Linked DNA regions of Homo sapiens: all the other regions are linked to region 5. The links are contacts of gene promoters, found by promoter capture Hi-C in blood cells and fetal thymus (Javierre and others, 2016). All regions are on one chromosome and are shown on one strand. Each heading gives the region's core, a stretch centred on a gene start or on the middle of the fragment in contact. The rest is flanking DNA. Distances are from core to core; before and after follow the strand shown. Region 1 overlaps LOC124900678 (a long non-coding RNA gene). Region 2 has its middle 22 kb from the start of MIR573. Region 3 has its middle 6.0 kb from the start of MIR573. Region 4 has its middle 39 kb from the start of MIR573. Region 5 holds the start of LGI2 (leucine rich repeat LGI family member 2).

Evidence for each region. The method cuts DNA at HindIII sites, captures the fragments that hold promoters and counts their contacts. A CHiCAGO score of 5 or more calls a contact.
Region 1: a fragment that was not itself captured here is called in contact with the fragment with the promoter of LGI2 in region 5 in 1 of 17 cell types (M2 macrophages); the score reaches 5.7 in M2 macrophages.
Region 2: a fragment that was not itself captured here is called in contact with the fragment with the promoter of LGI2 in region 5 in 6 of 17 cell types (M2 macrophages, M1 macrophages, M0 macrophages and 3 more); the score reaches 12.5 in M2 macrophages.
Region 3: a contact is called between a fragment that was not itself captured here and the fragment with the promoter of LGI2 in region 5, in 3 of 17 cell types (M2 macrophages, M1 macrophages and monocytes). The highest score is 9.0, in M2 macrophages.
Region 4: a contact is called between a fragment that was not itself captured here and the fragment with the promoter of LGI2 in region 5, in 3 of 17 cell types (M0 macrophages, M2 macrophages and monocytes). The highest score is 7.5, in M0 macrophages.

What each region holds. Positions count from the first base shown.
Region 1 is chr4:24,455,699-24,458,398 of GRCh38, reverse strand. All of the region lies in intron 1 of LOC124900678 (a long non-coding RNA gene), which reads right to left. It also overlaps a transcript of PPARGC1A not described here. Among named protein-coding and RNA genes, the nearest start is that of MIR573, 63 kb to the left of the region's middle. The HindIII fragment of the contact is 6,066 bases long and covers 1-2,700 here.
Region 2 is chr4:24,496,491-24,499,190 of GRCh38, reverse strand. No RefSeq gene overlaps it. Among named protein-coding and RNA genes, the nearest start is that of MIR573, 22 kb to the left of the region's middle. The HindIII fragment of the contact is 3,560 bases long and covers 1-2,700 here.
Region 3 is chr4:24,512,943-24,515,642 of GRCh38, reverse strand. No RefSeq gene overlaps it. Among named protein-coding and RNA genes, the nearest start is that of MIR573, 6.0 kb to the left of the region's middle. The HindIII fragment of the contact is 1,811 bases long and covers 495-2,305 here.
Region 4 is chr4:24,479,632-24,482,331 of GRCh38, reverse strand. No RefSeq gene overlaps it. Among named protein-coding and RNA genes, the nearest start is that of MIR573, 39 kb to the left of the region's middle. The HindIII fragment of the contact is 1,045 bases long and covers 904-1,948 here.
Region 5 is chr4:25,029,513-25,032,212 of GRCh38, reverse strand. LGI2 (leucine rich repeat LGI family member 2) reads left to right here and starts at 1,267. Exons shown (of 8, transcript NM_018176.4): 1 at 1,267-1,716. The coding sequence starts at 1,520. LOC124900684 (a long non-coding RNA gene) reads right to left here and starts at 2,105. Exons shown (of 2, transcript XR_007058083.1): 1 at 1,980-2,105. The HindIII fragment of the contact is 5,840 bases long and covers 1-1,990 here.

The DNA of each region.
Region 1 (2,700 bases), core at 102-2,601, 570 kb after region 5:
CTCCCAAGTAGCTGGGACTACAGGCGTGTGCCACTACACTCAGCTACTTTTTGTATTTTTTTGTGGAGATGGGGTTTCGCCATGTTCCCCAGGCTGCTCTTAAACTCCTGAGGTCAAGAAATCCACCTGCCTCAGCCTCCAAAAGTGCTGGGATTACAGATGTGAGCCACTATGCCCAGCCCAATATTTTCTTTGTGCATTTGAAAACCCCAAAATAACCCTTTTTAACAACCATACATATTAGTCAAGAGGTCATTCTTACAACTCTGATGACCTTCCTTCATCTTTAGTTTTTGCAAATTCTTTTGGCTGCTAGAACCAAATGTTGGTCAAGGGATCCAAGCAAATAGTTTACATCAAGAGTTTAACTCCAGTTATCAGAGCCTTTTTTTCTTTCCTTCCAGGGTATAATATCTCTGCAAATACCTACTGGCCTATGTTCTGTTGAGATCTACAGAGAAAAATCTTTCTTGTTCTATTTACTGAACTACCTAACTTCAAAACAAGGAATAAACCTGGACTCTAAACAGTATCTCGGTCAGGCACGGTGGCTCACGCCTGTAATCCCAGCACTTTGGGAGGCCAAGGCGGGTGGATCACGAGGTCAAGAGATCGAGACCATCCTGGCTAACATGGTTAAACCCCATCTCTACTAAAAAATAAATAAATAAATAAATAAATAATAAATTAGCCAGGCGTGGTGTCGGGTGCCTGTAGTCCCAGCTACTCGGGAGGCTGAGGCAGGAGAATGGCGTGAACCTGGGAGCGGAGGTTGCAGTGACCCGAGTTTGCGCCACTGCACTCTAGCCTGGGGGACAGAGCAAGACTCCATCTTAAAACAAACAAACAAACAAACAAACAAACAAACAAAAAACAGTATCTTTTGTTATTCCTGAGATAATTCCAAGAGAAGAGGAATGTTGACTATATCCTATGGCATCATTATTGTTTGTCTGATTGGACCCAGGCTAGAAATCTTAAAGATATTTGTGAAAAATAAAGCTCATATTCAAGATGAAACATTAAACCCCACAGTGAAGGTCATTCTCATTCTCTCTGGCTTGCCCCTCTTTCTTTCTCACTTGACTTTCTCATAATTTTTTTCAACAACGTCTTTGGACCCCGGTTCATTAAACTCTCCCTCCCCACATCTGATTTTTCCCCAAGAAAGTGCATTCTGGAGAGGGCAGGGGGAGTGACTATTCATTTGTCTACACTTCCCAGGCTCAAAGGAGCTGTGGTCACTATTGCTTCCAAAACATTCCTTTGCCATAATCCTGCAAAACTGTATGATCCCATACCTCCCAGTGAAATTCCCATAGACCATATTCTACCCTTTTTCCTGGCTGTCTTATTGTATCCCTGTTACTTCCTCTGGTCCCATGAAGGCTCAGTCCCTTGGCTCATGTCCTCTTTGCTATCTGAACTGCCACCATCAGGGTGGTCTTCAGCATCTGCGTGTGCAGGAAATATCCAGTGACTTAGCTTCAGAGTTGCAAGACTTCATCCCCACCATACTTTGCCAGCTCAGTCACATTGCCCACACTCTGGCCTTGTCTTCTGTAATGTCTCTGCTTCCAGAACATTAAACTCCAGTGTAACCATATCTGGTTATACCCTCATAGCCTCTCTGCTTGCTCCCCTACTCTCCCTTTTTCCAAGTTCATTAACCATGCTTTTCCCCTGACTCCTTTTAGCCAGCTGAGAGATCCCATGATATATTATGTTAACCACTGTCTTGCTAAAACCTCAAAGCTCTTAATCTCTCACCCTTCTATATCTGTCCACAAAAATCCTAGTCTTGGATTGGTGCAACCAACTGTTCTGTTTGCTTCTGCATGCAAGCTATTTCCTGCTGTTGGAAAAAACCAGCCATACCAAAGAATGCCAGTATAATTTTATTATCCTCAACTTCAGCGTCATCTAGCAAATATCGTATGGAATATCAAGCTCACTCACTGTTCATATCTGCAGCTCTGAACATTTCCCACTGTCCCCAACTCCCCTGCCCACCAATGGGCTTCCTTCCAGGTAAGGATTCATGGTCACCCAATGTGAATTCCCTCAACCTCTTGTCTCATATCTGGAAATCTCTTATCTTTCCACCCCTAGCTTTTCTTCCACCTGTGCTGTGGATATCATCCCTTGCCATCCTCTCCAGGACTTCAATGCATCAGTTACAGCTTTATGACTCAATAAAATTAGGAATAAATGTACCAAAATCTCTCCCATCTTGAAAAATTCTCCCATCAATCTTTCACTTCCCTTTAGGGGTTATTTGTCTCTTTTTTTCCCTTTGTTGCATGGCATGAAAGGCCCAGCTAATGCTGGGTACTATACCTTTTAATGGCATTAATCAGCATGAGTGTGACATTGGCTGCCACCAGTAGCTCACAGATTCTTTGAGCAAAGAGGCAGATAGTGTCTAAAGCAGCCTATCTGCCAAGCTCAGCTAGATAATTATCTTAGTTCATTTTGTGTTGCTATAACAGAATACCACAGACTGGGTAATTTATAAAAAACAGAGATTTATTTCTTACAGTTCTGGAGGTTGGTAAGTCCAAGAGCATGGTGCTGATGTTTGGTGAGGGCCTTCGTGTTGCATCATTTCATGGCAGAAGGTAGAAGGGCAGGAACGCATGAGAGCAAGAGGGCAAGAGGAGGTGAGCTCCCTCTTATAATAAGCTCACTCTTGGAACA
Region 2 (2,700 bases), core at 117-2,616, 530 kb after region 5:
TACCATTTTCTCCAATAGTTGATGGTTGTCTGGCCCATGCCAAATTCAACAGCATTTGTTTGAAGCAACTTGCATCTATTCAGTCATGCCAAAACATTCAACTTGGTTTTCATAGGAGCAAGAACTTCTTTTCCCATTCTTTTTTTTTTTTTTTTTCCTTTTCTGAGATAGAGTTTTGTTCTTGTCGCCCAGGCAACACTCCATGCATGTCACTCCATGCAATGGTGCAGTCGAGGCTCACTGCAACCTCCGCCTACCCAGTTCAAGCAATTCTTCTGCCTCAGCCTCCTGAATAGCTGGGATTACAGGCAATCACCACCACACCTGGCTAATTTTATATTTTTAGTAGAGACGGGGTTTCACCATGTTGGCCAGGCTAGTTTTGAACTCCTGACCTCAGGTAATCCACCTGCCTCAGCCTCCCGAAGTGATGGGATTACAGGCATGAACCACCATGCCCAGCTTCCCATTCATTTTTAAATAGGTTTTACAACATGTAATTAAACCGTAGAAGCAAATAAGTATAACTAGCATAGAAGCTCCTTGAGGACAGGACTTCTCTGTTCTTTATCACTGCAGTGTCTCCAGAGCTTAAAACAGTGTGTACACATCATAGGCGCTCAGATGTCTGTGCATGAATGAATAAACTGGCTTTGACAGGTTTGGGGAGCAAAGGGTTAATTCAATATGTGGGAATCCATGGACAAAGTCAGGTGGAGCCTGCCAGCTTCAGGTGTTTCAGGGGTCATGGGAATCATCATCATTTACAGAAGTCTACATGGTTTACAGTGAATCCAGCAGGGTAGTTAAGAGACGGTCAGTTGTGAAAGCTACTACCACATCATAAGTAAATATTTAAGGGAAGGATCCAGAAACATCTGTTTGTCTCTTTTGGGGAACAGGTGTGTCTTGGAGGGAGGGTATGGTAAGGGGGATGGCATTTGCATTTCAGCAGGTGAACATGCATCATTTGAAAAAACCTATTTAACATAATTATCATATTTTAAAAATACGATAAATGAAAAATACCTACTGCTTTCATAACACATTATAGAAAGTGAAGCTCAAGAAAATATAGTAGTGGGAACAGGCAGAAGCAGCAGCAATTCTAGACAGTAAGTCCCATGAAGGCAGCATATTATTGATGCCTGGCAAATTGTCCTGACTTAATCAATATTGTGGGAGAAAACAGATTCTCAATAAGAAGTGTACCTCTTAAGGGCAATGTAACTATGAAGGTGTAGGCTTGGAAAATGTCATTTCCCAATCAATATTTTAAAAGGCATCTTTTTAAAATATTGAAAAACCGTGTTTTAAAAACATAGCAATGTTTTTGGCTAGGCGCAGTGTCTCATGCCTATAGTCTCAGCACTTTGGGAGGCTAAGGCAGGTGGATCTCCTGAGGTCAGGGGTTCAAGACCAGCCTGGCCAACATGGCAAAAACCCATCTTTACTAAAAACACAAAAATTAGCCAGGTGTGGTGGTAGGTGCCTGTAATCTTAGCTAATTGGGAGGCTGAGGCAGGAGAATCCCTTGAACCTGGGAGGCGGAGGTTGCAGTGAGCTGAGATCGCACCACTGTACTCCAGCCTGGGCGACAAGAGGAAGACTCTGTCTCAAAATAAATAAATAAATAAAAATAAAAATAAAAACATAGCAATGGTTGTTCCAAATAAATCACAACAGGATTCTTTTTGGGTGCTTTCCCAATGTTATTTCCTCAGTGGGATTTTGTGGTCAGTTGATTCACCGGGTGAGTAAAGCTGATTTTTAGACTAACCACGGGGAATAGTTCCACGGGATGGAATTGCATTAGCATTTTGGCTCATGGAAATAGATGCGTATGGTAAGGTTCATAGAGACTGCAGCCTTTCACTGACCAAACAATTGATTGTATTTGTAGCCAATTTAAACTGGAGTATTTTCTGGAAGAGTCGGAGACTATGATGCTACACCATCCATTGCACAAACATTAGCCACAAAATGGTGGAAGTCACTTGGTCTGGCCTCCGCAAGGAGTCAGTCCTGGTCATTTCCTCCCGGCTGCCTCCGGTGGAAGGATATTCCACACACAGCTCCGTGGTATTTGTAGCACAAGCCCAAGTTTGATTATCCTAGTGGTAATTTCAAGTTCTTTGTTTCCTACCCTCCTTTTTAAACCTATTTCTTCCTAATCAGTTTCCTGAGGATATGAAACCTATTCCTTACACAAACCAGTTGAGCTCAATTTTTCCTTATCTAGGCTAAACCCCATTTTTGTGACTTTTCCAGAGATATTAAAATAAGCAATAACCACAAAACCAACAGCACCAAAACTAGCTGCATCTTTAGGACGGCACTGTGTTCTTCCTTGTTTTTCTTCTTTGCACGTGCTGTTCCCTCTGCTGCTGGGTGTGCACCCTTTAAACCTGCATCTCCCTGGGCTAATCACCGTGCCAACTCAACTCCTGCTCGTGCCTAAAGACTTACCTCAGTTAAAGAGCGATGCTCCAGACAACCGCCCTTGCTCCCCACACCAACAGAGGAAATTATTTTTATTTATTTATTTATTTTTGAGACAGAGTCTCACTCTGTCACCCAGACTTAAGTGCAGTAGGGTGATCTCGGCTCACTACAACCCCTGCCTCCCAGGTTCGAGCGATTCTGGTGCCTTAGCCTCCTGAGTAGCTGGGATTTCAAGTGCATGCCACCGCGCCCATT
Region 3 (2,700 bases), core at 151-2,650, 520 kb after region 5:
CGAGGTCAGGAGATCGAGACCATCCTGGCAAACACGGTGAAACCCCGTCTCTACTAAAAATACAAAAAAAAAAAAAAATTAGCCGGGCGCGGTGGCCGGCGCCTGTAGTCTCAGCTACTCGCGAGGCTGAGGCAGGAGAATGGCGTGAACCCGGGAGGCGGAGCTTGCAGTGAGCCGAGATCGTGCCACTGCACTCCAGCCTGGGCGACAGAGCGAGACTCCGTCTCAAAAAAAAAAAAAAAAAAAAAAAAAAAGTATTTATTCCCTAAGCATATTCATTATATGCATTTCTAGGTATTTTGTTGCAGGGACGCTTTCAGATTATCTGTCTTCAGAATTGCTAGATACAGAAGTTGACCACTCCCTTTTAATCTTTAAATCAAGGACAGGATTGAGGTCAATATCGCTGTGTGCTGTCTAATGAATTATTTGTACAGATTTAGAAAAGATAAATATTTATTGGTGTAGTCAGATGAGTGAAAGTTTAGTAAGCTTCTTCAGACATATTGACAGACTTAAGCCAGCTGATTTTCTGTCCTTTAGCAAATCTCACCTGCATTCTCTGGCATAATTAAGTGGGGTTGATAAACCATCTCTATTTTCTTTCCCCCGAAGCCTGACACCCAGTGGTCAGACTTTGAAACCAAAACCTCCCTGAGGGGGTTAACAAAAGTGAGGACTATTTGCTACCCTCCTGCTTCACACTTTTCATCTTCATTGTGGAATAGGTAGGTGAAATACTGAGCTGGATGGGGAGAGCCACATCTAAGCTATTCCCTTACAGGAGACTTGCCTTAAAGAAATGGGAATTTTGAGCCACTTCCTTGCTCAGTGTCCTTGTTGACTGCTGAAACTTTGTTCATTTCTTCATCTTTTAGAGAATGATGAAGTGATGTCTCAGCTCTCATCCAGGGGCAGACTCTAAAGTCAGTCCTTAAGGCAGAAATCATGATATAGTCCAAATTGAGTCTCCCTAAGAAGGTGGTGTGACAGGGAAGCATGCTTGATTACTTTGCAGGGGGAAAATGGCCTTTTTTCCCCTCCAACATTGAAAGATTACAGCTTTTGAGCTGAGAATCTTGGTTGGCCTTCATTCAGAGGCCACATACAAAAAAAGAAATATCTTTATCAAAAGCAGAATCCCACTCATAGATGACACACACATGGAGAGGTTGGAGAGGTGGATAAGGCTTGAGCACGTAGCAGATTCATACCTCGTATCTCATGCACTCCAGACACTTTCACTCACTAGTGGGCAGAGTTGCCTGAACTGTTTATATTGGGTTTTCTGTTTTGGTTGGTGCTTGCTGATGCCTTATAATTAAATGATCACATTTAATGATTAATTACCATCTTGGAATTGTGAGGATTAAGTTGGGTAATCATTGTGACAGATGCTTTGTAAACTAAGATCGCTGTGGTAGTCATTAATGCTGTTCTCCAAATATTTCTAATTTCAGGCATGTGGTAGGTTTGCACTGCCCCCTTGAAGTTACATATAGCCAGGTGAGACTTGCTTAGGTCAACAGGATTGAGCAGAAGTGATGGGGTCACATCTGGGTGGCAGCTGTACAAGCACAATGTCATTTCACCGTGCTCCCTCTCCCCCTGCTGTGGCAACGTTCCAGCATGAGGCATCATAGAGCAAAGCTCCCAACAGACCCAAGATGGAGATGAGCAAGAAATCAATTGATGTTGTAGGAGCCACTCAGATTTGGAGCTGTTTGTTACTACTGTGTAACTTAGCCTATCCTGTCTGATGGGCAACATGCACAGGTCTCATGTGGTTTTGTGCCATTTGACCTAACCCCAGTGAATGGGCAAGGAAATAAGGATAAGACCTATTAGAAGGCTGGGAGAATACAATGAGGCTTATGGTGAAGGTACAGTTGTGAATTGTATTTAAAATGAAATCTTTTTAACTCTTAGCAGAAGAAGATGGCACCAAGATCCTTTAAGGGTATGTCTGAGTCAAGCCCCATTTCCATTAACCGAACGTAAGCATGACTAGAAAAAGGTGGAGATCTGATATTTAGTGAGCCTCTTCTCTGGCATTCTGCTAGACCTACTGGCACAATGAGCTCATTTAATTCTAATGGCAACCCTAGGAAGAACCCAGGGTGTTATTCCTATTGCATTAAATATATGAAGTAAGGCTAAGAGATATTAACTGTCCCGGGTCACTTAGGCAGTAAGAAGATGAGAAGATTATAAAGCACTAAGTGCCACAAAATGGTACTTCAATATACAGTGCCAGTTTCTGCTTAAACCTACACATTTTTAGGAATACCTACTGGCAGAAGCTTAGTTCCCCAATTTAAGGATTAATTCATCTTATTATGGGTATAAGAGAGAAGGTGCAGGTCACTCCGGTGTAACTTGACCTTTCAAAAAGTCACCCTGGTGTAAACCTCAGCCTAACAAAGCTCTAACTGCCGGTGGGCCATCCTTAGCAATTTGGAAGTTAACTTACTCCTGTTTTGGTGGGAGTGCTGGCTGGACTCTGTTTTACCAGAGCTCTTTATTGCTTGATTGATTTTTCCTGATTTATGTCTTCACTAAAAACAGAAAGAAAAAAACCCAGCATTCTAAAGTGATGTGCATTATCAGAATGCTACACCTTTCAAATTCAGATTTTTTTAAAATTGCAAAGCCAAATATATTCATTTGCATTTATTATAAATTAATATAATAGCTGAG
Region 4 (2,700 bases), core at 177-2,676, 550 kb after region 5:
GGAAATGATCTTTTGTTTCCTCGCTGGCCCATGGTTGAAACCCATAGGTCACTCCAAATCAAAAGACATTAAAATGTGTAAGATGGAACTGGAACATAACATTTAGCAGAAGTTTTAAGCATTTCTGGTTGTGTTTTTGTCACTAAGGCTGTTTGCACTGTAGTTTGCAGCTGTAGCCACGTATGGAGTTAAATAACCTGGTTGGCACGCACACGCACACGCATGCGCGCGCGCGCGCACACACACACACACACACACACACACACACACACACACAGGTTCCTTAGGGTGTGTGTGAGAAAACAAAATGATCAAATATGGTAATCTGGCATTTAATTCCACCTAGGTAAAAGAAGCATTGGAAATGAATGTTTTTCTCCTGACACATGTATATATCGGTTGCACCACCAGATAAAGTCAAGGTACCAGGCCGTAGCTCTTGCTTTTGCCAGTTTCTTATGAAATATCAGGGCTTTTTCACTAGTGTTAGAACCAAGGCAGAGACCTAGAAAGATAAATGATTTAATTCGGCCTGTCAGATTCTATTTGCTTGGAAGCAAGGATTCACGAGGAGAAAAGCACATTAATTGAGGTCTTAAGGTGGTAGTAGAACACATTTTATTTATTACTGCTTTCTGTGTAGAGGGATTTTTTTTTCTTCTTCCTTTTAACGTTTATTTGGTCTTGTTCAGTCAACTTGTATTGAGTGGGTTCTGTGCTAGGTGAGGAAAACCACAGTGAATAAGACCAGCTGGTGGGAGATGGAACAGAGGTGTGGCAGAAACCAGGAGAAGAGATGAAAGGGCTTTCCTCTGGGACTGTGACAAGAGACTTTCCTCAAAATGATGACCTCTACTCTAGAGTTTGAGAAGGTCTTAGGCAGGCAGGAAGGGTAGGAAAGCTTCTCCAGGCAGAGGGAAGAGTAGGGGCAAAGCCACACTGAGGTGGAAGAATCTGACGTCTCTGAGAGCTTAAGTGAGCTGGCCACACTGAGGCCTTGTGTGAGTTGGGAGGCCTTTGAGAAGGAGCAAAGGAAAAAGTCACTTGAGATGAGCTGGAGAGGTCCGTGGAAGAATCTGGTCACAAGGGGCCTTGTAACTCCTTAGAAAGCCCTGTGGGATTATGGAAAATTGTGTCAGACTTGGGGTTGGGGTAGGTGTCTAGATTAGAGGAACTGAAAGGGGTCATTTTTAGGATTTGGGTTTTGATCCAAAGAGCAATGAAAGCCACTGAAGCGCGCTATGATTAGATTTGCGCTTTGAAGACATTATTCTTTTTGCAGGATGAAGAATGGCTGGGTCACAATGGATGCAAAAAGACCTGTTAGGAATCTACCATAGGGTCCTGACAGAAGAGAAAGGTAGCCCAGCATAGGTGACTGAGTGGAAGTAGACAGAAGGGGAAGCATTTAAGGAGAGACATTGGATATTGATATTGAAGGGGAGGGAGGTGTCAAGATGGTTCATACAACATAGCCCAGACTTCTTCTTGATCTTCTGCCCATGGACAAACACAACTTGCCATCATCTGTCTTCAAATGGCATCCAGAACTTGGAGGTATGGACCAGGTGTGGCTTCTGTGGACATTTTATCCCCGGCATCTATAGCCTCTGATTTTTAAGCAAATGTCAGACAACCAATGTGACAGACGATTGGATCTTGGCCTTTTTATTCTTCTCTCCCCTGAACTCCTGTCACCTGCTCTGTGGCAGATATCGTAAATTAACTCATTCGGTTTCCATTGCAACATTCTCCTACTAACTCTGTGGTTCATAGAGGCCAGAGAGCCAAAAGCAACATTTCCCAGAACCTTTTGCAGGTCACCCATGTGACCAAGGTGCCTCCAGGCAAACACACCTTCTCCAGTCTTACAGGCAGAAGTGCACAATGTATGGCAACTGCTAAGTACAGGGAGATCAGATGTTCTGGCAAATGAGGTTACCAAGCTTCCTGTTCTTCCAAGACTGTGGGTGGTAGAGTTTCTGGTGTCCAGTCTATTGTCATATAGCTTTTTTTCCTGGCAGCTTTGTTCCTATTTGTAGCATCCAAACCCAATTCTCTAACCCTCCTGGAAATTATATGAGTTACCTAAGACTTTCTGCCTAAAGTATCTGAAGTGAATTCTGTTGCCTGCAAATAACAACCTGTGATATGCTCATCAGTGAACTTCATTTATTATTATATATTTTATTTGTTGTTCTACAGGTAGTGACACCTTTTTTCTGAACATAGCGTCTGCTCCTTAAAGACAAAAAAGTGGTCACGTACCCTCTATCATGTTAGCCACAGTGCAGAGAACATAGTAGGTGCAATGTGGATGACTGCCATTTTTGCCTGCTTGACATCCAATCATCATTCTCCCAAAAGTACCAGATACACAGACTGTCCTCGAATTTTCCTCTGGGAAGCTACGTCTTCTTCAGTCTGTTTATTTGCTTTGGTGTTATGGACTTCTAGAGCCAAGGATGGGCATGAGACTCAAGCCTGGCCAATCACAGAGCATTGCATCCCACTGATTACCATAATTAATGTAAAGATGGGAACATGACCCAATCAGAGCCAATGTTTTAGGATCTAAGGATTTTTGACTGGACTGTTGAGAGAGAGAGAGGGAGGGAGGGAGGGAGGGAGGGAGAGAGAGAGAGAGAGATGCACATCTATCTCATCTGTCTACTCTCTTTCTGTTAGGACCACTGATAC
Region 5 (2,700 bases), core at 18-2,517:
GGGTTGTCTGTCCAGCTAGACTTTTAGCTCCCTGAGGACAGGAGCTGTTCCTTTGTTCCCTCCCACAGCAGCCAGCCTGATACCGTCCTCATGGATCTTGTCAATGGATCACCAACAATAATTGCTGAAGAAGCAATAGTATGATTCCTACTTTTGCATTCGATACTGACTTTTCTGAGTAGGTTTTAGCATCTGGCATGCTTTTCCTTGGTTTGCAGCTCGACAGTCGTGCTGTGATTCCCTTCTCCCAGCAGTTCAGGTTATTAGCCATTACTTTGTTTCCGCTTTGGTCATTTTCTTTGATTTCCTCAGCCGCACATTACCTGTGTTAAGATTTCCGCTCATTGCTTCAAACTTAAGGAGTTGAAGAGGGGCTCAGGAGGGCCCAGTTAAGGTAGCCCTTCAAGGCTCCGAGCCCCATCCTGCCCAGCCAGGAGCTGCTGGACCATCAGCCAGTCAGGATGCTTTCTGGGCGTCAGCAGCCTCATCAATAAATTAAGGATATAAGTAGGACCTGCCTCAAAAGGTTAGAAGATTAAAAGTACAGTGGCTAGAATGTATCACACCCTCAATCTCTACAAACCCTCCTCTGACTGGGGCGGGTGGGGTGACCCGTGGGCAGCTGAGCGAGGGGAAACTTTCCCGGGCTTTCCAGCTCTTTAGCAGGCAGCAGGCAGGGCCCAGAGCGCCGGGCGTGCAGGCTGCAGCGGCTTTGCTTCCCCACGTTCCTCCCATGGGAGGACTGGCTGGCTTCAGTAACCCCTGGTGCTGTGGGAGCGAGAGCCAGACCTCACTGCCCCACCGCAGAAGACAAGCAAAGCCATCCTCGCTGACCCTACCGGCAGCATGCACTTCAAAATTAATAAAGGCTGCTCCAAAGTCTCTCCTCTTCAAAGCACCCAGGGCTGCCTCCCTCCCCAGTAATCAAGCCGGTTCTCCACACTCCCCGCTCCGACTTTATTGATTTGCCTGAAAGGAACCCAGTGCCCTCCCCAGATTATACCCCTGGAGGTATTGCAGGCATCGGATCCTCCACCGCTCAGTCAGGCCCCGACGGGGGTCTCCGCCAGGCTTGGCCCCTCCCCCAAGGTCACCCAACTTTTCCCTCTGTCCCCGCGCCCGGCCCGGGGCGAGAGGGGGTGGCGAGGTGGGGGCCGGGTGGGGCGCCACGGGGCCGGCGCTGGCCCCCTCCCCCGCGGGGCGGGCCCCGCCATGCATTATTCATTGGCCAGAGCCGGGCTGCGGGCGCGAGTGCTGATGTCAGGCAGGCGCGAGTGCGGCGGGCGCAGCGGCGGCGGCCGCCCAGCAGCCCGGGCTCGGGTGGGGGGGCGCCGAGTGGGGGTGGCGGCCAGCATGCTGCTCGGCTGCGGCTCGGCCTCCCACACCCGCGGCTCCCTAGTCCTCGCCAGCAGCGGCGGCGGCAGAGCAGCGAGCGGCGCCCGCGTCTGCAGCGGCGCCGGGTCCGAGCGCGCGGCGCGGCGGTGGGGGTCGGGGCCCGGGCGGGGAGCGGGGACCGGGCATGGCGCTGCGGAGAGGCGGCTGCGGAGCGCTCGGGCTGCTGCTGCTGCTGCTGGGCGCCGCGTGCCTGATACCGCGGAGCGCGCAGGTGAGGCGGCTGGCGCGCTGCCCCGCCACTTGCAGCTGTACCAAGGAGTCTATCATCTGCGTGGGCTCTTCCTGGGTGCCCAGGATCGTGCCGGGCGACATCAGCTCCCTGTGAGTGGGACCCCTCCAGCCCCCATCCCGTCCCGCCCCACCCTGCGTCCGCCGCCGCGAGGGAGTTGCCTCTGGCGCCGGGCCAGCGCGACCCTGACCCACTCCCCAGGCCCCTTCTTTGCCTTTGTGTGGGGGACGTGGGTGGAGTGTTGGCCCCCGGGGAGGACGGTGAGGACCTGAGCCCCAGAATCTGGGAACCCAGACAGGTTCCTGTGGCAGCGTTTCTCAGAGTGTGGCCCACGGGCCACCTGCATCAGACTCACCTGGGGAAGCTTGTGCCAATGCAGAATCCAGCTGCTCTGAAGCAGTCTTTGGAGTGGAGTCCTGGAGTGTGCGTTTGACGTCCCCGGGAGACTCAAGGGTGCATTAAAGTTTGAGAGGGCGTGTGCGTGTGTGTGTGTGTGTTTGCGGGTTGGAGTTGTGTGTGTAGGGGCGTGCATAGGAGCAGCTGAACACGACCTGACTGAGTGCAAACTGGGCAGGGTGAGGCCTCACTGCCCCACATCAGGTCTGGGGCGAATGTTCACCCCGTGGCCTCCTCCCGACTTCTCCACATTGCAGGTTGCAAAAAGTCGAGGTCAAGGCATGCAGGCTCTGGGAGGGGAGGGGCCGCCCCCCGTGGCCTAGAAGAGGGGTAACAGAAGGCTGGGCAGAGGTTTGGGGCATGTTGGGCGCCTAGCCCAGTGGCCAAGTGCTTTGAAGTCAGCCTTCTTGCCCTGAGGTCAGGAGGGCTTCTTGCCCCCTTTCTCCATCACACAGTTGTGTTGGCTGCTTTTTCAGCAGGAGGAACTGACAGGAAAGGGCTTCACATTAGGTATCCACCTGCCGAGAGGTGCTTTCATCCTGCCCTCACCTGGCCACTCAAGCCAAATGACCAGCTCTCACAAGGGCGGTGGAAGGGGCTGTTGGGCTGTATCTTTACTGCTAGGACATGTTTCCTGCTAAGACCACTCTCTTGTTCCAGGCCAAGATGCCTGGGTGCCC